Regions from separate parts of the Homo sapiens genome. Here region 1 is linked to region 2. The links are contacts of gene promoters, found by promoter capture Hi-C in blood cells and fetal thymus (Javierre and others, 2016). All regions are on one chromosome and are shown on one strand. Each heading gives the region's core, a stretch centred on a gene start or on the middle of the fragment in contact. The rest is flanking DNA. Distances are from core to core; before and after follow the strand shown. Region 1 overlaps GSKIP (GSK3B interacting protein). Region 2 holds the start of CCDC85C (coiled-coil domain containing 85C).

What was found. The method cuts DNA at HindIII sites, captures the fragments that hold promoters and counts their contacts. A CHiCAGO score of 5 or more calls a contact.
Region 1: a fragment that was not itself captured here is called in contact with the fragment with the promoter of CCDC85C in region 2 in 1 of 17 cell types (naive CD8 T cells); the score reaches 6.8 in naive CD8 T cells.

The regions. Positions count from the first base shown.
Region 1 is chr14:96,371,828-96,378,602 of GRCh38, reverse strand. The region is part of intron 1 of GSKIP (GSK3B interacting protein); the gene reads right to left. Among named protein-coding and RNA genes, the nearest start is that of GSKIP, 12 kb to the right of the region's middle. The HindIII fragment of the contact is 3,518 bases long and covers 1-3,472 here.
Region 2 is chr14:99,598,694-99,605,456 of GRCh38, reverse strand. It overlaps CCDC85C (coiled-coil domain containing 85C), which reads left to right and starts at 1,250. Exons shown (of 6, transcript NM_001144995.2): 1 at 1,250-2,290. The coding sequence starts at 1,498. It also overlaps a transcript of HHIPL1 not described here. RefSeq lists silencers at 46-195, 376-445, 506-645, 786-1,315 and enhancers at 1,576-1,695, 2,402-3,055, 6,587-6,763. The HindIII fragment of the contact is 18,022 bases long and covers 1-6,763 here.

The DNA of each region.
Region 1 (6,775 bases), core at 464-2,963, 3.2 Mb after region 2:
TGCTACTATAATAAATTACCAAATTAGTGGCTTCAAATAGCACACACTTATTCTCTTACAGTTCTGGAGATGAGAAGTCTAAAAGCAAGATGTCAGCAGGTCTGTATTCCTTCTAGAGGCTTCAGGAAGGAATCTGTTTCCTTACCTTTTCTCACTTCTAGAGGCCATCTGAATTCCTTAGCTTATGGTACCTTCCTCAATCTTTAACATAATAAAAACATTCAAATGACTTCTTTTTCTGCTCTTCCTTTTTTTTTGGAGAGTTATTTATTTATGAGGCAGGATCTTGCTGTCACCTAGGCCATAGTGCAGTGGCACAATCTCAGGCTCAAATGATCCTCCCACCTCAACCTCCCAAGTAGTTGGGACTGCAGGTGGGTGCCATCAGGTCCGGGTGATTCTATTTTTTGGAGAGACAGGGTCTTCCTATGTTTACCCAGGCTAGTCTTGAACTCCTGGGATCCAGCAATCCTCCTGCCTTGGTCTCCCACAATGCTGGGATTACAGGTGTGAGCCACTGCGCTTGGCCATAATTTATTTTCAGTGAACACATTTGATGGGCAACATAAGGTGCTAAGCAGTTTACATGCTTCTCTTAAAAGGAAGCCTAGAGTACTTGCCAAGCCCATTGCCTTCTCTGGAAAGGTTTCTGAATCATAGGTTTCATGCTTTGTATTTTAATTCCAGCATCATCATAGCAACATGTACTGGGGATGGGTATTCCAATTAAAGGCACCATCTCAAGGTTGGCAAGGGGTTTATTTATGTCCCAAGTCAAGAGCTTTGTCCAACTACTTCCGGATGGTGGTCTAGCTAATCAGATGCTCTCTCAAGGAGTTTGAAAAGAGCCAAAAACCATGAAGTCAGTTAGCTGGTGATGACAGGAGTTACAGAGGCAGAGCAGTGAGCAGCTAGGTTGCTATGTTGACCGACACTTGAGAAGCAGCTTCCACACTTTGGATTATGTACCCCAGAAGGTAAAAATATTTTGAGCAGACACCTTATTATAAGCACTTATATAAATATTCTACCACAATTAAAATATTTAAGACATATAAATATACATTTAAACAGAAGGTAAAGATGGAATATAGATATATTTTCTGCTCAATGGATTATCTGTGTACCTGACTAGAAGCCTGTACCATTGAGGATGAGAAAATACACGCCCATTTCAGCGAAGGAACAACCACTAGAATTACTATCAACACTTTAGAACTGCCATCAGGTTACCAGAATGGTTGACTCATCAATGTGAATCCTGTAAAAATCTTTGCTTTCCCTTTTTGTACACAAAACAATTTATCATCATATAAGAAATTCTAAATGAATGGAACTTTCTGTGATGACGGAAATGTTCTTTATTGTTGCCCTCCAATACAGCAGCTAATAGCCATCTGAAGTTTGGCTACTGTGATGGAGAAATTGAATTAAAAATTTATTTAATTTTGGTTCATTTAAATTTAAATAGCTAGTGGCCACTGTATCAGATGGCACAGGTCTAGACCTCTGTGAAAACTTGCAGATAATATAATAAGCAGAGTTTATACTAAGGTTGAAAAATCTCAGCAGATGTAAAGGCACTGAATCAAACTTTATATATGAGTAGCAAAATTTGGAACTTGAGATATAATTGAATCTTAATTACTGTATGTAAAGGAATCAATCATCATTGTTTCAAATAGTAAAAACTAATGAATCATTATCCTATGTTTTATAATCTTGTCTACTTGGATTCTAAGTTTATTAATCAAATATCATAATCCACTCGGTACCTACATAGCCGACTTTTTTTTAAGCACTAGAATACTAATAAAAGATATCTACTGGTAGCTTGCAGTCTACTTTGGGAAAGAAAACAGGCACATGAAATATTTGCACAAATATTAATGCCATACACACACATCATAATTATTCTCCCCAAATGTACTTAATTGTGAGTGGCAGATAATTACAGAAAACAATGATATGTCTTCGTCCTACTACAAACTCTTATCACTAAACTTGTATGAACCTGAGTTGGGCACATAATCTCATTGGTCTTACGGAGGTCTCATCTACAAAATAAGGTAAATAGGCAGAAAATTCTTTACTGTTCTAAGAGCTTTGACATTCTATAATCTATGACGTAATGGTTAGTTATGATGGGGCTTGACTAAGGGTACAGGTCAGTCAAAATTGGTTTGGAATGAGCATGAATAAAGAGTTATAAATAAGCAAAAAGGTCTTGAGAGTTGTGAAAAATTCTGTGTAGGGAACAAAGCATAAGCAAAGGTCAGCACAGGGTGTGGCAGGAACTAGTCGGGCTAAAATACAAGGATATGCAGGGATGGCCCAATCTGACAGCATGCTGACACCTAGAGAGAGGAATTTGATTTTGATATAATAGGCTGTTTTAAGGTCTTCGGAATGGAAATACAAATATCTTTTTATTTAATATGGGTTTCTTACTGGCAGTATGTAGTGTGGTCCTGCTTTTTCATCCATCTGGCAACCTCTTTTAATTGGGGTGTGCTATTAGTATGAATACTTGTCCCCTCCAAAACTCATGTTGAAATTCAATTTCCAATGCAACGTGGCAGCACCAAAAAGTGAAGCCTTAAGAGGTGACTGGGTCATGAGTGCTCTACCCAAAGAGTGGATTAATCCATTTATGGATTAATAGTTTAATGGGTTATCATGCAAGTGGAACTGGTGGCTCTGTAAGAAGAGGGGGAAAGATGTGAGCCAGCACATTCAGCCCCCTCACCATGTGATACCCTGTGCCACCTCAGGACTCTGCAGAGTCCCCACCGCCAAGAAGGCCCTCTCCAAATGTGACCCCTCTACCTTGGACTTCTCAGCCTCCATTACTATAAGAAATAAATTTCAAGCCGGGCGTGGTGGCTCACGCCTGTTATCCCAGCACTTTGGGAGAATGAGGTGGGTGGATCACGAGGTCAGGAGTTCGAGACCAGCCTGGCCAATATGGTGAAACCCCATCTCTACTATAAATACAAAAATTAGCCAGGCGTGGTGGTGCATGCCTGTAGTCCCAGCTACTCGGGAGGCTGAGGCAGGAGAATCGCTTGAACCTGGGAGGCGGAGGTTGCAGTGAGCCGAGATTGCGCCACTGTACTCTAGCCGGGGCAACAGAGTGAGACGCTGTCTCAAAAAAAAAAAAAAAGAGAGAAAAAGAAATAAATTTCTTTTCTTTATAAATTTTCGAGTTTCAGGTATTCTGTTATAAGCAACTGAAAATGGACTAAGGGTGTTCAGACCACTTACATTTGATTACTGTAATTATTGATATAGTTGAGTGTGAATTTGCTGTCTTGCTATTTCTTTGCTTTTAGTCCCATCTGTACTTTACTCCCTTTTCCTTATTTTCCTCCTTGCTTTTGAATTAACCACTTTTTAGGATTCTATTTTATATCTTTTGGTTCTTATTAACGATATTTTTTGTTGTGTTTTTGGTGGTTGCTTTAAAGCTTATAGTATACATCTTTATCACAATGTACCTCCAATTAATACTATACTACTTCATGTATATGAACTTTACAAAACACTACTATATAGCATTTGCTATTTTTGTCACATATTTTACTTCTACATAAATTATAAACTTCATCATAATGTTATTATTCTTGCTTTAAAGAGTCAATTATTTTTCAGAGAGATTAGATAAGTCTTTTTATATGTAATATATAATTACCATTTTTTGTGCTCCTTCATTTGTACTGATCTATATCTACATGTATTATCTGTATCATTTTCCTTCTGCCTGAATAACTTCTTTCAACATTTCCTGTAGTGTAGGTCTGCTGTTGATGAATCCTTTCAACTTTCCTATGTCTGAACTAGTCTCCTTTTCATCTTCATTTGTGAAAGATGTTTTTGCTGGGTAGAGAATCCTAGGTTGGCAGTTTTTTTTTCTTTCAAGTCTTTAAATATGTTTCTTGGATGCAGTAGCATACACCTGCAGTCCCGGCTATTTGGGAGTCTAAGGTGGAAGAACTGCTTGAGCTCAGTTCATGACCAGCCTGGGCAAAATAGTAAGAGCCTGTGTCTCTAAAATAAAAAAATTAAAAAGATGTTTCTCGACTATCACACCTTGCTTGTCTTGTTTCCCATGAAACATTTGATGTGATTGTTATCTTTGTTCCTCTTGGTGTAGTTTTTTCATGCTTCTTTTCCTTAGGTTTCATTGAGATTCTGGAATCTGTAGGTTTAGAGTTTTCAACAAATTTGGAAAATTTCTGGCCATTATTTCTTCAAACATTTATGTGTCCCTATCCTCTTTGGGGACTCTAATTTTATGTATATTAGTCCAAGTGAAGGTGTCCTGTTCCTCATTGCTGTATTTATTTTTTTCACTGTTTCATTTTGAATTGTTTATTGATATGTCTTCAAGTTTGTTAGTCTTTTCTTCAGTATCTATTCTATTTGTGTCTTTTAATCTTTTAAACATATTTTCCATGTCTTTGCTTAATTTGCTCAATCTTTTTTCTAGCTTTTTGAACATATAAAATACAGCCATAATAAGTGTTATAATGTCCTGCCTACTAATTTCAAGTATTATTTCTGGGTTACTCTCAACGGACAGATTTTTCTTCTCAATTGTAGGTTATATTCTGCTGCTCTGCATGCCTGGTCTTTTCTGACTGGATGCCAGACATTGTGAATGTGGTGCTGAATGTTTTTATATTATTTTAAATATTATTGAATTCATTTGGTTAGACGCATGGTGAGAAAAAATTTAAAAAGTAATAAATATTGTTGAGCATTGTCCTGGGAGGTAGTTATCTGGAAACAGCTTGATCTTTCTGGGTCTTGCTTTTAGACAAGATCTGCGTTTAATCTCTAGTTAATTCTGTCCCATTACAGAGGCAAAACCTTTCTGAGTACTCTACCCAATGCCCTATGAATTACGAGGGTTTCTATTCTGTGTGATAAGAATGGGAATTATCCCTAGTCCTGCTTTAGCTCAGAAAACTGTTTCCTGTAATTCTTTTTTTTTTTTAATGGAAGAACAGAAATGATTATTAAACACATGAAAATACACTCACAGTTAGAAATTATAGAAATAATTAAAATGAGGTAACATTTAACATCTTGCAGATCAGTAAGACATTTTCCTTTTTGAGTCTATGCATAAAAAATTTTCTAAATCAAGTATTATTGAGGATGCAGAACACAGAACATTTAGACACTGAGTGGGAGTGTAAACTGGCACAACACTTTGGAAAATGATTTGATATTATCCAATAAAGATGAAGATCCAGCAACTTAGTCTCCAAAGAAATGAGGAGATGTATAATTTTCATATCACCTCTGCTTCAGAAAGTCCCAAACTGAGTATCCTCCTTTCTTTTTTTTTTTTTTTTTTTTTTTGAGACAGAGTCTCGCTCTGTCACCCAGGCTGGAGTATAGTGGTGCTATCTCAGTTCACTGCAATCCGGGCCTTCTGGGTTCATGCCATTCTCCTGCCTCAGCCTCCTGAGTAGCTGGGATTACAAGTGGCCACCACCGTGCCTGGCTAATCTTTGTATTTTTAGTATAGACGGGGTTTCATCATGTTGGTTAGGCTGGTCTCAAACTCTTGACCTCAAGTGATCCACCCACCTCAGCCTCCCAAGTGTTGGGATTACAGGCGTGAGCCACAGCACCTGGCCCCTCCTCTCATTCTTTTTGGTAGTTCTTTCCCCAGCCTAGGGCAGTGAACTCATGAATTAGTATTCAGCTACAGGCTGGAGGGAGACCCTTCCTATATCCTCACAGTCCTTGCTTTCTGTGAAGCTATTTACTTTCTAGTACTCTGTCCTAGCTGCCTTGGCCTTCTTGGGTTTCCAGCTCTATGTCCTCAATTCAGGGAGACCATCAGGCTTTACCTGGATTTTTCTTTCCAGTGCCATGCCTGGCTCTAGGCAATACAATAGGGCAACAGGCTCACCATATTTGTATGATGCTTCTCAGGGATCACCTATACTACTCTGAACCAACTTTTACCATCTTGTTGTTTGTTTCATTAATGAATTAAATGCATTTTGACACATGCTCACCATATGTTTTATGAGATCCATGTTTTTAACTTAAAAAATTTTATTTTAACACGACTTTGAAGACTTTTAGTCCTCTAAAATTCAGCTCAGACAAACCTATTTCAGGATTGTGTATCTGCTCTCAAGATGGCCAATCACTGTATCTTCCTGAACAGCATCTCTGCTTTGGTACTGCTGTACTTAAGCCTCATGGCAAATAATTTTTGTGTCTGTACTACTACAGACCCATGAAGATGGGAGCCTGTGATATACACATCACCAGCACAGTGTCTGGCATAAAGCAGGACTTCATTGAATATTTCCTGAATGAATAAAACAGAGAAAATTCTAACTCTCTGCTTCTCAGGTGTGATACTCGGCTCTGTGACAAGGAGTATACAAAGACTCAGGACAAACATGGCAGATATTCTTGGAAAATACATATCACTGTTACTATATCAATATCAGGAAATATTACAGAACTGCCTAGAATTTTAATGAAAAAGTACACAAATGTTTGGATGTCTCAAGCCACATCCTCTTTAGATTATACCCCTACGCGTCTAGGGTTTCCTTTGCCTCTAAAAGGTACATTCGAGTGAGGAATATTGGCATGAAAAATACGTTTTAGAAGTATAGCCCTAACCCAAGGACTTAATTCAACAAGATGAAAATTTCAGGCACCGTGTCTGGCAGTATAAAGTTAACAAGCAGAGGCAGGAGCTGGTAAAAGGATACAAGGTTAGGGCTGAGTT
Region 2 (6,763 bases), core at 1-2,500:
CGTGGGCCGCTCACTGTCGCGTGCGCGGATTTGATCTCGTTGCAGGTTCCGGGGGAGGGACCCCCCCCCGCCCCGCCCCGCCCCGCCTGCTGGCGGTAGACGCGCCGTAAATGCGCTTTGGGGACCGGAGGATAACGAGACAGACTTACAGGCAGTGGGAAGCCCGGGGGTCCCGCGAGGCCGCCGGTGGGGAGTTCTGTGGCCGGCTCGGCGCCCCCGGACCCCGGCGTTCAGGCCCCAGTGGGAGACCTTCCCACCCTTCCCAGTGGTTTCCACCCCGCGAATTGCAGATTATCTCCCGAATCCCAGGGATTTAGCGGTCGAGTGAGCGGAGGTGGAGCGGGGCTCCGAGCGCCGCTCCGGGCAGGGGGCAGGTTCCCGGAGCTCTCGCCCCATCGGGGCAGAGAGTACTGACCGCGCTGCGGGACGCGGCTGGCAAGGCCCTGGCCCTGCAGGGGCGCGGACGCCAGCGTTTAGCTCAGCCCTGGGCTAGGAGTGGAGACGCAGCCCCGCCGCGTGCTCCGGCAGGGGACCCGGGTGGGGACGGGGGCGGAGGAGCCTGGGGGCAGGGAAGGGGACAAAGAGCCGCCCTGCTGCGGGGAAGAGCGACCCCCATGTCACAGTCCTATTGTTCGCTGTGTCTCCGACTGCCCTGAACTCTGGTGCCCCCGGGAGGGAGAAGGGGCGCCGTCGCCCGGATCGTGGGTATTTGTTTATCTGGGGAGAGGGAAGAGGACCGGGGACGCGGGCCGGGGAGGGGGCTCGACTGCTATTTTCGCGCGTCGCCTTTAAGGGAAGCCCGGCCCTACCTTTCCCACCGTCCCCCTCCCCGCAGCCGTACCTGCATTTTAAAAGCGCCCTGTAGCCCTGGGATTGGCTAAGGCCGCGTCCTCCGGGCGCAGAAACTTGAACCGCCGGGAGCCGGCCGCGGGCGGGGGTCGGAAACCCCGCGGATGGACCGTACCACCGCCGCAGCTTCCCCCGCGCGCGCCCCGCCCCTCCCGCACACCCCCGGAGCGGCCCAATCGCCCGGCCGGGAGGGCGGGACCGCGGCCGGAACGCGCCTCTGAGAGGGCACTGGACGGGCGGGCGCACCGCGCAGGGGGACGGCGGGGGCCGCGCCTCTGCTCCCCAGTCGCCCTCGGGGGCGGGGCCGGGCCTCGGAGACCCGCCCACTCTCCGCCCGGGGTGGGCGGGGCGGCGGGGGCTCCGGGAGCTGGGCCGGGGGCGGGCCTCCGCCTGCTTCTCCAGAACCCTGAGAGCGCCCGGCACCGCGGCCGCCGACGCAGCAGCCGCCTCCGCTCGTCAACCCCGAGGCGCGCGGGCTCCCGGGCGGCCCCGGCGGGCGCGGCGAGAGGACGCGCCAGGCGGCGCGGGGCGGGCCGCACGCGCCCCCGGCCGCCCCCCGCCCGCGCGCGGACCGGCCCAGCGGAGCCCCGGCGCGGGGAAGCGCCGGCCGGGCGAGGGCGAGGGCGATGCCGCGGTGACGGCCCCGCCATGGCTAAGCCCGCGGCGACGGCGGCGGCGGCGTCGGAGGAGCTGAGCCAGGTGCCGGACGAGGAGCTGCTGCGCTGGAGCAAGGAGGAGCTGGCGCGGCGGCTGCGGCGCGCCGAGGGCGAGAAGGTGGGCCTCATGCTGGAGCACGGCGGCCTGATGCGCGACGTGAACCGGCGGCTGCAGCAGCACCTGCTGGAGATCCGCGGCCTCAAGGACGTGAACCAGCGGCTGCAGGACGACAACCAGGAGCTGCGCGAGCTCTGCTGCTTCCTCGACGACGACCGGCAGAAGGGGCGCAAGCTGGCGCGCGAGTGGCAGCGCTTCGGGCGCCACGCGGCCGGCGCCGTGTGGCACGAGGTGGCCCGCTCGCAGCAGAAGCTGCGCGAGCTCGAGGCGCGCCAGGAGGCCCTGCTGCGCGAGAACCTGGAGCTCAAGGAGCTGGTGCTGCTGCTGGACGAGGAGCGCGCGGCACTGGCGGCGACGGGGGCCGCAAGCGGTGGCGGCGGCGGCGGGGGCGGCGCCGGCTCCCGCAGCTCCATCGACAGCCAGGCCAGCCTGAGCGGGCCGCTGTCGGGTGGCGCGCCCGGCGCGGGGGCCCGCGACGTGGGCGACGGCAGCAGTACGTCCAGCGCGGGCAGCGGCGGCAGCCCCGACCACCACCACCACGTCCCACCCCCGCTGCTGCCCCCCGGGCCGCACAAGGCCCCCGACGGCAAGGCAGGAGCCACACGTCGGTCCCTGGACGACTTGTCGGCGCCGCCGCACCACCGCAGCATCCCCAACGGCCTGCACGGTAAGGACTACACGGGCCGGGCAGCGCGGGTCTCCCTGGCTGCAGCCCTTTTCCCAGGCTGCGGCGAGAGGAGGTGGTCCCTGGCTGTCCCACTCATGCGGCCGCCACTCCAGACTCCTCCAGCTGTCATGGATCCTGGGCCAGGGGATCCCGCACTCACCCAAAGTGGGGCTTTGGGCGGTGGTGGGCCGGTTCAGTGGTGGAGCGTCTTTTTGTCCAGCTCAGAACCTGCTGCCGGTCCGGTCCCAGAAAAGTTTCTAGCGGGTGTAGTTGCCAAAATTAGGGTCTGTCACTGCTGGGCTGGCGGTGGGCGCCTCATCCCAGCCTTGGAAATCCTTGCCTAGTAGCGGGAAGTTCTAAACAGCAAAGGATACAAGGCCCCTTGAGCGCAAGTGAATTTCCCCTCTTGCAGCAACAGGTGTCCTCCAAACCAAGCAGCGTCCACGTGTGTGCGGTGGCTGGAGTTCTGCAGTGGGGTGTGGGGATTGGGAAGGTGCACAGGCAGCCGCTTGAGACCCAGAGGCAGTTGGGGAGAGGCCTGGGGCTCAGAGCCTTTCTTGTTTGCCATAAATTCCGCCCTTCTAGTCCTGGGACCTTTCTCAGCCGAGACTCTAAGACTTTCCCGAGGGAGATGTATTTGGAACGGATTCTAGCTTTTCTCCTCTGTGTGCCTCAGTTTCTTTGTCTGTGAAATGGAGATGATGACCTCTGCCTCGTGGGTTTGAGGTGGAGATAAACCTTCTGAAGGGATTTATAAACTGTTGATCGCCTTACAGGAAGTGCCGTGGTCATCCGTGACCAGGGTGTGGGTGGGAGGAACTTTGGCCTCTGTCAGCTTCTGTCTTCTACGCCCATGTTACTGCTGCGCCCAGTGCAGAGGGTGGCCCCAGCTTGGGGCTGTGGGAGCTTGCAGCCTGCTCCCTCTCCCAGCCCCCTGCTCAGCCCTTCTGCTCCCTGCCAGCTTTCTCCTCCTCGCTGGTGGATCCGGGGCCTCCCTGTTCTTCCACGTTTTTTGGTAGCTTGGCTTCCAGTTCTGCTGGTAGTTGCAACTGCCTGAACTTTTTGCCTGAAGGTGGAGAATGAACAGCTCTTTCTGGTTCCCTTTAAAGCCTTTCCTAATTCAGAGAAAGTGTGTCTAAGCCTGCAATAACTGCCCTCCCCAGAACCCCTCAGCCTGAGCTGGGGAGGGACGTTTTCTCCTTAGTTTGGTGGCCAAGTGGCCTCTGCAGACGTGTTGGGGTGGGGGCTGGGGTGGGAGACATACCCATGGAGGTGGGGCAGGGGCAGTGCAGCATGTTTTTCCTTTATTTACCATCCTGAGCCTGTGGGTTCAAGGCAGGACTGGGTTTAGAGGGATATTTTGTTACTGATTAGCAATCTATGGCTACAACTCAGGTTTCTCTTTGTAACACTGTATCCACCCCCACCTCCCACCACAGGCTGCTTCAGGGCAGTGGGAGTAGCGCAAAGTTAGGTGGTTTAATTTGCTGGGGCTGTTCAGAGCACCTCAGCCCCTTTGATTTTGCCGTCCTGGGGGCTTTTGAGGGGTCAGTTATCTGGGCCTCGGTTTCCCTAAGTGCAGTCCAAAGAGCAGATTGCTGCAGTCTCGTGGCTGGAAAGTGAAATGTTTCTGGTTTTCAGCTGCGTCATCAATGACACTTGGCAAGAGTGCCTCTCTGCAGGACACTGGAGGGCTGGAGTGTTTAGAGCATACTTGCAGGAAAGGCTCTGTCGAGTTTTGGGCAAGGAGATGCGGCCCCAGTCTGGCTCAGCATGTCAGCTGCGACAGTGAATAATACAGGAGTGGAGGACTAGGCTACACTGAGTTTTCCACCCCACTGGGGGTCAGTGGGAGGTTGAAGTATAGGGTTTCCCACAGAACCCATCCTCCCCCAAGCCCACTTAGCACAGGACTGCTGCAAATGTTGTGGCAGCAAACCTTGCTTTGGGGTGAAATGAAAATTCAGCATTATTATTACAAATTTCGGTTACAGATGGAATTATTATTATTTAGTTTTGTCTCTTAAAGCCATGTGTGGCCTTGGGATGTGGTCCCACTAATGTAAATGGAAGGCTTGGAAACCAGGAAAGGCCCTTCTCTTAGAAACTGAGCTGTTCTTTCTTTCTTTTTTCCCTTTTTTCGAGACAGGGTGTCACTCTGTCACCCAGGCTAGAGTGCAATGGAACACTCATGGCTCACTACAGCCTCAACCTCCCAGGCTTAAGTGATCCTCCCAGCTCAGCCTCCCAAGTAGCTGTGATTAGAGCCATGAGCCACCTCACCTGGTGAAACTGGGCTTTTCTATTCTGGGACTTGTAACTTTAAATTGAGCAAAGATTGGGCCTGAGCTGAGGGAGATAATGAGTCTCTGTCTGGGTGGTGTCTAAAGTGGGGTCAGACACCAGGCTTGCGCCTTATGTGTTTGGTCTTTGCTTCTTCTCACAGGAACCCTGGGGAAGCAGTATTATCCCCATTTGACAGACAAGCAAGTGGAGGCTTAGAGGGGTTCCTAGCCTTGTCTGGGAAGGTGGCTGACATTGGAAGTACCTGTCCTGGGTGGGTTTGCTGCCATGATCATCTCGTGTTCAGGCCTTGGGTCTGAATCTGTTGTGCCCTTGGTCTGTTGTCATGTTTGCTGTTACTGTTAATCAGGGGACACTGGTGACTCCCTATTCTTGATTCCTGACCCAGGTTTGCCCTCTTTCTCCCATGCTGGGAAGTGTCACTTCCTTATCAGTGACCATTGAGCAGATGGCTGATAACCCCGTTACCCAGAGGCTCAGGGTGACTTGAGTTTGAATCTCAGCTCCTCCATGTATACTGGGCAAGTTATTAACTGGCCAAGCCTCTCTGTGCTCCTCTTCTGTAAGATGGACAGAACCCAGAGTGCCCCATTATTCACACAAGGTTGAGTGAGGTCAGGATCTACACACAGTAGGTTTCTCCTGTTGTTAGGGTCCTTGGGGCTCTCCCAACAGACCTCAGTTTCCTCTTCAAAAGTGCTTGCTGCTTAGACAGCTCACCTGAATGTTTGCATCTGAGCCTCTTGTGTGGCAGCACTTGCTGATGAGCTAGTGAGGACAGTGGCCCTGCTGTCCTTTCTGGGGAGCTGGTGGCAGTTGCAGCCCTGCTGGGTGCCCTGGGCAGACTCTAGTGGCTGAGGTGGGAGGTGGCCCATCTGTATGCAAGGCAGCCCTGGCTGAGGCTGGCCTGGTGGGCCTGTGTATTGTGTATGTACATGCAAATAGGCTTTTCTCCTTGGCTGCTTATTTATTTATTTATTATTTATTTAGAGACAGGGTCTCTCTGGTCACCCAGGCTAGAGTGCAATGGCACCATCATGGCTCGCGGCAACCTCAACCTCCTGGGCTCAAGTAATCCTCTTGCCTCGGCCTCCTGGGATGTGTGCTACCATGCCCAGATAATTTTTGAATTTTTTGTAGAGACTGGATCTCACTATGTTGCCCAGGCTGGTCTCGAACACCTGGGTTCAAGCAGTCCTCCTGCCTTGGCCTCCCAAAGTGTTGGGATTACAGACGTGAGCCACTGCACCTGGCCTTGGCTGCCTTTGGTAGAGGTCTGGTCTGGGCTGACTGGACTTGGGACTGGGCTGTGCGTTGCTCTAGTCCAGTGTGGCACACTGAGACAGGTAAACCCCAACACCAGAAAGTCAGGTTCTCCTTCATGAACTGATAGGATTTTCAAACAAAAGAATTTTCAGTTCTTTTTCCAGCTGCCCCTCCGCCTGTCTCCTGTGCCCCACGACAGGCACCATGCCCCCCTCCTGCCCATTGCCAGGCATTTCCTTCCCTCCCCTGATAACCTGCTCCTCCACGGTCCACTCCCCTTTAGCCAACCTGGAGGAACTAGGATTCTAGCAAGCCTGTGCATGAGCCCCATTTACTTTTTAAAGTTCGGATTAAAATTTTGAGCTTCTCAAAATGAGACAGGTTTGTTCTCCTGCTTGTGTTTTTGTTGGTTTAAGAGGGAGGATGGAACGGGGTGGTCTGGGCCTTTAGAAAAAGACAGAGCACGCTAACTCTGAATAGGTCTTTTCTGTGCAGCAGCTCGGCTAATAAGGCTGCTTTTCCTAAACCCAGCCAAGCTCAGGAACAAAGGTCAGTGAAGACAATGGGGTGGGTTAGATAAGCCTTTCCCCCTCCTTCCCCAGCCTGTCCCAAGGGATCCATCAATGGCCTTGGGATGCTGGGCCTCAGAAAGGAGGGCTGGCCTTGAGAGGCTCCCAGGCAGGTGACCCAGGGGTGGGTAAACTGTGCCCAGTGCTTCACAGTTTGCCACAAACAGCATCCCAGTCCCAATTCCATTCTGTTCAGAGCTTCCAAATGGTCCCAGGAGGGAGACCTTAGCATCTCCATATCTTAGATGGGGAAATCAGGGCTTGGAGTGGTGGTGCGGTGACTTGCTCTAGGTCCTGTGGGGCTGATTGGGGGGCCTGGGATGCGTCTTGGGTC